Linked DNA regions of Homo sapiens: region 2 is linked to region 1. The links are contacts of gene promoters, found by promoter capture Hi-C in human tissues and cell types (Jung and others, 2019). All regions are on one chromosome and are shown on one strand. The core of a region is centred on a gene start or on the middle of the fragment in contact, and the rest is flanking DNA. Distances in the headings are between cores, read along the strand shown. Region 1 holds the start of DNAH9 (dynein axonemal heavy chain 9). Region 2 overlaps SHISA6 (shisa family member 6).

Evidence for each region. The method cuts DNA at HindIII sites, captures the fragments that hold promoters and counts their contacts. A contact is called where the count stands out against the background at its distance.
Region 2: a fragment that was not itself captured here is called in contact with the fragment with the promoter of DNAH9 in region 1 in 1 of the 25 tissues and cell types used here (dorsolateral prefrontal cortex).

Annotation. Positions count from the first base shown.
Region 1 is chr17:11,595,774-11,600,179 of GRCh38, forward strand. DNAH9 (dynein axonemal heavy chain 9) reads left to right here and starts at 2,697. Exons shown (of 69, transcript NM_001372.4): 1 at 2,697-3,142. The coding sequence starts at 2,726. The HindIII fragment of the contact is 9,113 bases long and covers 1-4,019 here.
Region 2 is chr17:11,265,572-11,269,956 of GRCh38, forward strand. The region is part of intron 2 of SHISA6 (shisa family member 6); the gene reads left to right. Among named protein-coding and RNA genes, the nearest start is that of SHISA6, 27 kb to the left of the region's middle. The HindIII fragment of the contact is 4,555 bases long and covers 609-4,385 here.

The DNA.
Region 1 (4,406 bases), core at 1,447-3,946:
CCAAGATGGTACCCAGTGATTCTTGTCTCCTGGTATTCACATCCTCATGTAATTCCCTCTCATATTGAATAGGGAAGACTTCTGTAACTAATAAGATAATTGCAGAAATGACAGTGTGTGATTTCCAAGGCTAGTCATAAGAGACACTGTAGGCTTCTGCCTTGCTCTCTCTTAGATCACTTCTTCCGGGGGAAGACAGTCACAGCATTACAAAGACACTCAGATACCCAATGGGGGCTCCACATGCTAAGAAGTTGAAGTCTACTGCCAAGAGCCAGCACTAACCAACTAGCCATGTGAGTAAGCCATCTTGGAAGTGTCTCCTCCAGCCCCAGTCAAGCCTTCAGATGATGTAGCCCCTGATGACATCTTGCCTGCAACATCATGAGAAACCTTGTGCAATAACTACGAGCTAAGCAGCTCCTAAATTCCTGACCCCCCCATAAACTGTGTGAGATAAATGTCTATTGCTATTTTAAGCTGATAAGTTTGGGGGTAATTTGTTATACAGTGATAGATAACTAATATATTTTGGGGATATTTTTGTCATAATTATACAATATTTTAAAATGTCAGTTGTTTTCAATAATCCCATATCAATGCCTCCCACCAATCACCTTCTAAAATGCAGATAAGGTATCTTTTTGGAGAGAAAATTAAAAACTGGGATTGCTAATATTCAGGAGCCTTCACCTTACACAGAAATCTTTAAGTCATATTCACAGACTCCTTTGTTCCTATTTTTATGTATGTTGGGGCAAGGGGACATAGGAGATTAACGGCATAATAGAGCCACAGTGCGGTGGCAGAAATTTTATTTCAAGGGTTTACTGAAAGTTAATGGTCCTGAAGTCACTCTGTATACGAAACATGAGCATAGTTGACACATTTGAAGTCCCTAAGCACTAAAACAATAACGATGCCTTCCTATGTGCAAAGATAAACAAAAAACGATATGTGTAAGAAGCCCCTGACATTACTATTTTTCCCTGATGCTTCTTCTTGAAATGTCAGTTACCAAATTCATCCTAAAGATTGTTTTAGTTTCCCACTTTTTCCCTTTCCTCATAGTTGGTTGATTATTGTTTAATCCAGCAATGATGAAACACCCTTTACAAACATAAAGATTCATTTCTAACATGAACATTTTTTATTACAGCAACTCCTTTGCTCCAGTTATTATGAAATCAATCATTTTACTTCCCAACCACTGGTGTTTTCCCGAGGGGCTCTTGTTAGCCAAGCTACCATTGATAAGTGCTTATTCTGTTAATATTCCTTTGAAACCCATTATAAACATTCCTTTTACCCAGAAACTCAGCAGTCCCTGGGAGGTGACTAAAGGGAGGATGGCAGGGCAGAGGGGAGCTCATTCAGTCCTGCAGACCTCATGCTGCCCAAGTTGTTTGTCCATTTTTTCAGCACCCATGCACTGTCACCTTACATGCATGCAAAGGGCCAAGCTGTTTATCCTGACCATGGAGAAGGACTAAGCAGGTAACAAATGCTAATTTCTGAGGTCAGGCAAGGCACTTTATATTATCCCTTTTTGAAGCCAATATCCAGGTATAGGGCAGGATGGGAAGGTTCTGAGCATCCTGCATATTTACAAGTACTTTGCTACATTTAGTAAGAACTGATTAGTGGTCATACCCATGGAAGTCAAAAACTCTAGCATGGTGGCTCATCCTTATAATCCCAGCACTTTGGGAGGCTGAGGCAGAAGGATCAGTTGAGTCCAGGACTTCAAGACCAGTTTGGACAACACAGCGAGACCTCATCTCTACAAAAAATTTTTAAAATTAGCTGGATGTGGTGGCGCCTGTATTCCCAGCTCCTAGGGAATCTGAGACCAGAGGATCAGTTGAGCCCAGGGATTTGAGGCTGCGGTGAACTATGATCCGGCCACTGCACTCCAGTCTGGGCAACAGAGTAAGACTCTGTCTCAAAAACAAGCCTCTTACAGTTTGGTTACATTTTTAGAAGATTAAGCACATGCCTTAAAAAACATGGGCAAAGAAAGGCACGGAAGAAAACTTAAAAAAACTTGATATTAAAATTTTGAAGCTGAGCTGTTCGATATAACTACAGTCACATGTGACTATTTAATTTTAAGTGAAAATTAAGTAAAATTAAAAATTTCCTCAGTGGGACGAGCATATTTCACCTCCTTTATAGGCCATGCGTGGCTAGAACAGATGGAAAACATTTCCATCATCGCAGAAAGTTCTACTGGACAGCACTGTTCTGAAGTGTTTAATTTGCCATCATGGAAAAGAAATAAAATTCACTGAATGTCCTTAAATCTGTTTTATGATTTGGCATTGTGTTTAAGTCTGGATTGCACATTTAGGATAGAGGTAAGAGGACCACACTATTTTCAGTGTCTGGAGACCTCTAAAGACTCTAATTCGACCTTGGCCAAAACGATCCTTAACAGCATTTATATGCTTGATCTCCTCTCCACGCAGCCCATCAATAAGCCATTGCGCTCCACGGTCACACTTCAGCACTCCCAATACACCAGGCAGACACTGAGTACGAGTCTCGGCTGGTGTCCTAGCAACAGCGACGCGACCCCGCCCCTTCCCGCGTACACCTCCTACCTTATTAGCCTGGAAGGGGCGGGACCAGGGGTCCGTGCCCAATAGGAAGGGAGCAGAGGAGTGAGTCCTGGCCGCGTCCCCGTCGCTAGGGAAACCGATGCAGCTGGAGGCCGCGCGCGATGCGGCTCGCGGAGGAGCGGGCCGCGCTCGCGGCGGAGAACGCGGATGGGGAACCCGGCGCCGACCGACGACTGCGACTCCTGGGGACCTACGTGGCCATGAGCCTGCGGCCGGCTGCGGGCGCCTGGGAGCGTTGCGCGGGGAGTGCTGAGGCGGAGCAGCTGCTCCAGGCCTTCCTGGGCCGCGATGCTGCCGAGGGGCCGCGGCCGCTGCTGGTGGTGCGGCCCGGGCCCAGGGGCCTGGCAATACGCCCCGGGCTGGAGGTGGGACCTGAGTCGGGCCTGGCTGGCGCTAAGGCGCTTTTTTTCCTTCGCACCGGGCCCGAGCCTCCAGGGCCCGACAGCTTCCGCGGCGCAGTGGTCTGCGGGGACCTGCCCGCGGCACCTCTGGAGCACCTAGCCGCGCTGTTCTCGGAGGTGAGGGTGGGTTAGTGTCCCCGCGCGGCTAAAGCTGGGTGGGGGAGGGGAGGAGGAGCCTTAAGGGACGGAGGCGGGGCCAGAGGGGGCGGGGCGAAGCTGCAGGGGAGGTCCAAGAGGCGGAGTGATAGGCAGAGGGGCGAGGCTGTGGAGGGAGCACAACCAGGAGGGAAGTTCCTGAAGTCAGGAAGAAAATGGGATGGGGTTAGGGGCGGAGTCGGGTGGGTCCGGAGGGAGGGATCTGGGTGGAGGCCAGGCCAGAATGAGAATGGGAAGGAGCTGAGGCTTGGGTCAGTCCGGGTCTGGGTTCCAGCCAAAGTCAGGGGAAGACCATAATCTGAAGAGTGCCTAGGTTCTGACTACTTTCAAAATCAGCCTCTCGTAATCCCTCCTGTAAATTGGAAAGATCTGAAGAAGATGGGAAGTGGACAAGACGGCATTTCTGATGGATCAGTGGGGTGGAAGGAGGTGGATGGCTATAAACAGTGCCTACTTCTGGAGAGCAGTTAAATGGGAGGGGGAGGTGGGTAGTGATTTGCTTTTGATTTTCATCTCATTCATTCATTACCAACCATTTAGCAAAGGTCAGCCCTGTGCCAGCATAAGAAGTTGGGCTCCCATTTGGAAATGCCCAGCAGGCCTTTGGAGGAGTCTGCCTGAAGCTCAGGGAGGAAGGTGGAGATGTGGGTCATGAGTGCTTTAGTGGCACCACAGCAGAAGCTTCGAGAATGCAGGAGATTTCAGGGAAGTGCTCCAGAGAGATTCCTGGGCCCCTTAGACCTTTCTGGAATGGGAGTAAACTGCCCTGCAAGTCAGGCTGTGTGCTTATGGAGGCTTGATGCCCTGGACCCTGCAGGTTGTGAAATAAGGATGGGCAGAATACTGGCTGTATGATGGTTCAGGTGATAGGTGCTATAGGGAATACCAAAGAACTATTCCCACCCATGAAATGCTTACTCCAAGGAGCTGAAACGTATGTAATAATTCATATATTCAAAATGTTTCAAACTTTTAAGACTGGGGTGAGGGTAAAGCTTACCTAAAAGTTGGCCCCACTGCTGGATGCAAGTCCTGGAGTCTCCCTGCTATGTCAAGTGTAAGCCCTTTAGATGGTGTATCAGGAGGCTGTGGGGAGGTGAAAATTCCAGGGAAAGGGTTGGATAGATAGAGGAGGACACAGAGGGCCCAGGAAGCTAGATCTCTTAGATATGGAGGTATTTCAATATTTTAACAAACAGAATGGTCTTGCAACTGTGCATTGTCT
Region 2 (4,385 bases), core at 1,636-4,135, 330 kb before region 1:
CTGGTATTATCACCACCTTTGAGTAGTGTATTTTGATTTTTCCAAGGATTCATCCTTTGAAGTCATTCTCCACCAGAACCTTGTTGTGACTCTGAAACTTCAGGTCACTCTGGCATCAAAAGCACCCCTGGTTGTTTATCTTCCCCTCTCTCTGTTCGGGTTTTCTTTGTCTCATTCTCAAGCGAGCTGGTTCCCCACTGCTGAACACAGACTGATTAGGTGGACAGTCTGGATTTGCCCTTAAATACCCTTCACAGGGCAGGAAGATTTGTCATTTCTTCTGGTTTCTGTATACCTCGTCTCTTCTAGTGAGCTGAGAAGGAAAGCTTCCAGTTACATGATTCACTTCTATGTTTCAAGAAATTCTCCTCAAATTTCTCAAATTGGAACTCTTCACTTTGCGCTTAGAGATGGGAATAGTATCCTGGCCCAGAAAGCATTCTCAGTTGTGATGCTTAAATTTAAAAGCAATTTCATCACAAGCCGCAGCTTCTACAGATTATAATGGACACAATGCTTTTCCAAGCAGTTGATATCCTTTGCCACAAAATATTGCAGTTTGAGCAGAAGTTGAACAGAACTTTGCATGAGTGTTCAAAGTGGAAATTTACTGTAATTTTGCCACTCATCAAATCAACAAACCATCAATTGTAGGAGTATGGTAGTAAGTTTTTAGGGGGCTATTAAGGGAGATATCCAGCAACACCAACAGGCATCAGAGCATATGAGTAGCTTTGCTACTCAAGATGGTGTTGGTGGGTCAGCCACATCAGCATCACCTGAGAGCTTGTGGGAAATGCAGAATCCCAGACTCTACCTCTCCTGCTGAATGAGAACCTGTAATTTGGTGAAATCACTTGGCAATTAGAGTTTGAGAAGCACTGGGAAAGCTTGAGCATTGAAGTATGTTCCTCAGTTTGCTTTTTGGCCCTGTCTCTTACTATGTATGTGATCTTGGGCAAGATTCTTTGTCTTTCCAAGTTTCTTTGTCTGCTATTGAAGCCAATCATACCTGTAGGTCAGAGTTGTTTTAATGGTATAATCAGTTAAACCAAGTAAAGCACTTAAGACAGGTCCCCATACATAGCAAACACTGACTGTTAGCCATGACCAGGCTATGAAGGCACATCCACAGCTCATGGAAAATGAATCAAATGAATGAAAGAACCAAAGGCAATGCATTGGTGTCCTTAGACCAGGCAGGGCCCATGGGATTGTGTGTGGGATGAAGGTCCCTGGACTCAAGCCTTCCTGTGGTTGGCTCCTGTCTGAGGCACATCCTCTGGGGATGAAAGGAATTTGTGGAGCTTGGTCAGGGTTTTGGACATTGAAAGCACATGCTTTGTTGGTTTGGGATGTGGGTTGAGAGTCCTGCAGTAATAATGAAAACAATAATAACACAAGTACCATAGATTGAGAACTTACTATGTATTGGGTACTCTGCTAGGCACTTTATGCGTAATAGCGAATGGATCCTGTAATATTTCTTAGATGTGAAAGTTTCTAATCCCACATTAGCAGAAAAATCCTGTCCCCTTCTATAAGAGCCTTTTACCCCAACTCTTCCAGGAAGCAGCTTTCCAACTTTAAAGATTGCCCCATAAGGAACACTTGGTTTGAATGTAGAAAACCAGTGAACCCTGCTTTAATCCCTTACCCCTCAAATCTGGCTGCCTGCAGACCCTTGCTACCCAAAGTGTGGTCCATGGACCAGGAGCAACTGCATTCCATTGGAACTTGTTAGAAATGCAGAATCTTGGGCTCTTCCTCAAACCTACTGAATCTGAAGCTGCATTTTAACAAGATCCTCAGAGGATTTGTACACATGATGAAGTTGAAGAAGACCTCTCTTAGCTCAGTGATTATCAGCCCTTGTCACACATTGGAGTTGTGTGGGGAATTCTGAAAATACCAATGCCTGCCCCCATCCCAAAGATTCTAATTTACTTGGTCTATAGTAGGACCTGGCATTGATATTAAAAAAGAAACAAACAAAAACAAACTTCCACGTGGTTCTCCTGTCCAGAAAACTTTGAGAACTGAGCTCTTAAAGTTTTGAGGGAACTGGAGGAAAGCTGTCAAATAAGGAAAAGATTCTTTGAAGATTTTGAATGTAGGTTCACATCAAGATCTGCAAGATGCAGACTGGCTAGGCAGAGTGAGTGTGGCTGTCGTAACCAGTCCTCTCCTTAATGGGTGGGGCTGAAGGGAGTGGAAGACTCAGGCTTATCTGAGAGAGGGAGGAGGTCAGTATGGAGCTTTGAAAGGAGACCCCTGGGCAAAAGCGGGCACAAGTAGAAATAAAAAGATTGTTTAGGGGACCAAGCGAAGTCATGAAGAGATGCACCGTACCTAGCGTTGCAGTTCCCTGAGTCCAGCACCTTAGAGGCTTGCTGTGGGCTTGCTTTTCGTAGATGGGGAGCAGGAGAGACCCAGCATGTTTGCCTGACCTCACCCCCTCCTAAAGAGCCTGTCCTGGGGCCTCTGGGGAGAGTGGGGTGCCCATTCCTGGCAGTAGCAATGAGATCATGTGCTGAGGTTACAGAATGTTGATGTCCAACTTCACTTTATCAAGAGTGACATCATCTGGAGACAATAAATATTCATGCCCATCTACATACCACTGTGAGTTGTATAAAAGAACAGCCAGTCATCCTGCCTGTTGTCAAAGCCATATCCATTAATGGCAGACAAAGGGAGCCAAGGGTCATGACTCTCTAAGCTTCATGGAGACCCAGAATGGAGGCTGCACAGGTGGCAGAGGAGCACTCTGCCACAGTCCTGCATGCCCTGGTTCCCATCCCCCCACGCCTCTCTGACCTCAACCCCTACTACCTTCTGCTTCCCTCCTAGGCTGCAGACACACTAGTCTTCTCCAGACACACTGTTTCTTCTCATGCTGTTTGTATTCTTGCATTGAGATATTTCCCCCTTTCTGTTTCTGTAGCCCCAAATTTTCTAGCACTAGGTATTTGTTTTGTGGAATCTGTTGCTCAAGCAGCACTGTTTTGGAGAGGCCTTTCCTAACCTTCTCTGTTACCATCTCCGGCTTTACTTTTCTCAGAGCACTTACATCATCTAACATCATACATTTGTCGGTTCATGTGTTTATTATCTGTCACCATCAGAATTTAAGCCCCAGGTACACAAGGGTTTTATCTTCCTATCATTGTGGTATCCTAGGACCAAGAACATCACTTGGAAAATCCTAGTTGCTCAAGAGCTGTTTGTTCAGGGAATGATGAAAGATGACATAGTCCTTTACTTGGATGGGCGTAGGATCCAAGCACAGATGCTGGTTATGCAGCTGCTGCATGCTGAAGAACTCCCTTCAAGACTGCATCCCATGTAGTAGCCCTCTCTGTAAAGTAAGTATGGTGTCCGTCACTTGCATAAACCATAGGCTGGTCACCAGCCAGCTGGTTGAGCCAGAAGGTCCTGGTATCCGGTGCCCAGTTTTTTTTGTTTGTCTGTTTTGTTTTTTTTTTTTAATGGAGTCTTGCCCTGTCGCCCAGGCTGGAGTGCAGTGGCGCGATCTCAGCCCATTGCAACCTCCACCTCCTGGGTTCAAGTGATTCTCCTGCCTCAGCCTCCCAAGTAGCTGGGACTACAGGAGCCCGCCACCAGATCCAGTTAATCTTTGCATTTTTAGTAGAGACGAAGTTTCACCATGTTGGCCAGGATGGTCTTGATCTCTTGACCTCGTGACCCACCCACCGTGGCCTCCCAAAGTGCTGGGATTACAGGCGTGAACCACTGTGCTTGGCCTGCCCAGGCTTCTTACTGAGCCCTGTGGCCCCTCTCCTCCTATCTGGGGCTGACCCAGAACTCCATGGGTCAGCGCAGCCAGGGACTGGGAGCTTCGCTTCCATGGCTGGGCTCAGAGGGACTGTTACCCAGGGTGCCCTTCCAGTTCTTTCCACCCTGCTAAGAAAGCACGGGTGGCTTGGAAGCCCAGGCAACCCAGAGAGTCCCTGTTCCCAGGGACAGGTTTAGGGCTGCCCATGAAGCCAGAAAACCTGGGCTGTGCAGCTGAACTGGGAAACTTCTGGTGAGTCTCAGCTTCTCACAGGAAGTAGGACTTTTCTTTTCTCAGTCATCCCCAAAGAAACAGAACTGTTGTTCTGGAGGAGTCTGAGATGATAGCCTCATAAGGTTTTGGAGCCCTATGGAGATGGTGAGATTAGCTGGCCAGAATTATGCTTGGCCTGTGAGGAAACTGAGGCACACAGGGGTCACTTAAGTGGGAGGTGACATCAATGTAGGTATAAAGCAATCGAAGCGCATCTGACACAAAAGCGAGACAATTTTAAGTCTTCACTCTCCAATATATTGGTTCCTAGCCACATGCGACTGTTGAGCACTAATTGTTAAAATTAATTTTA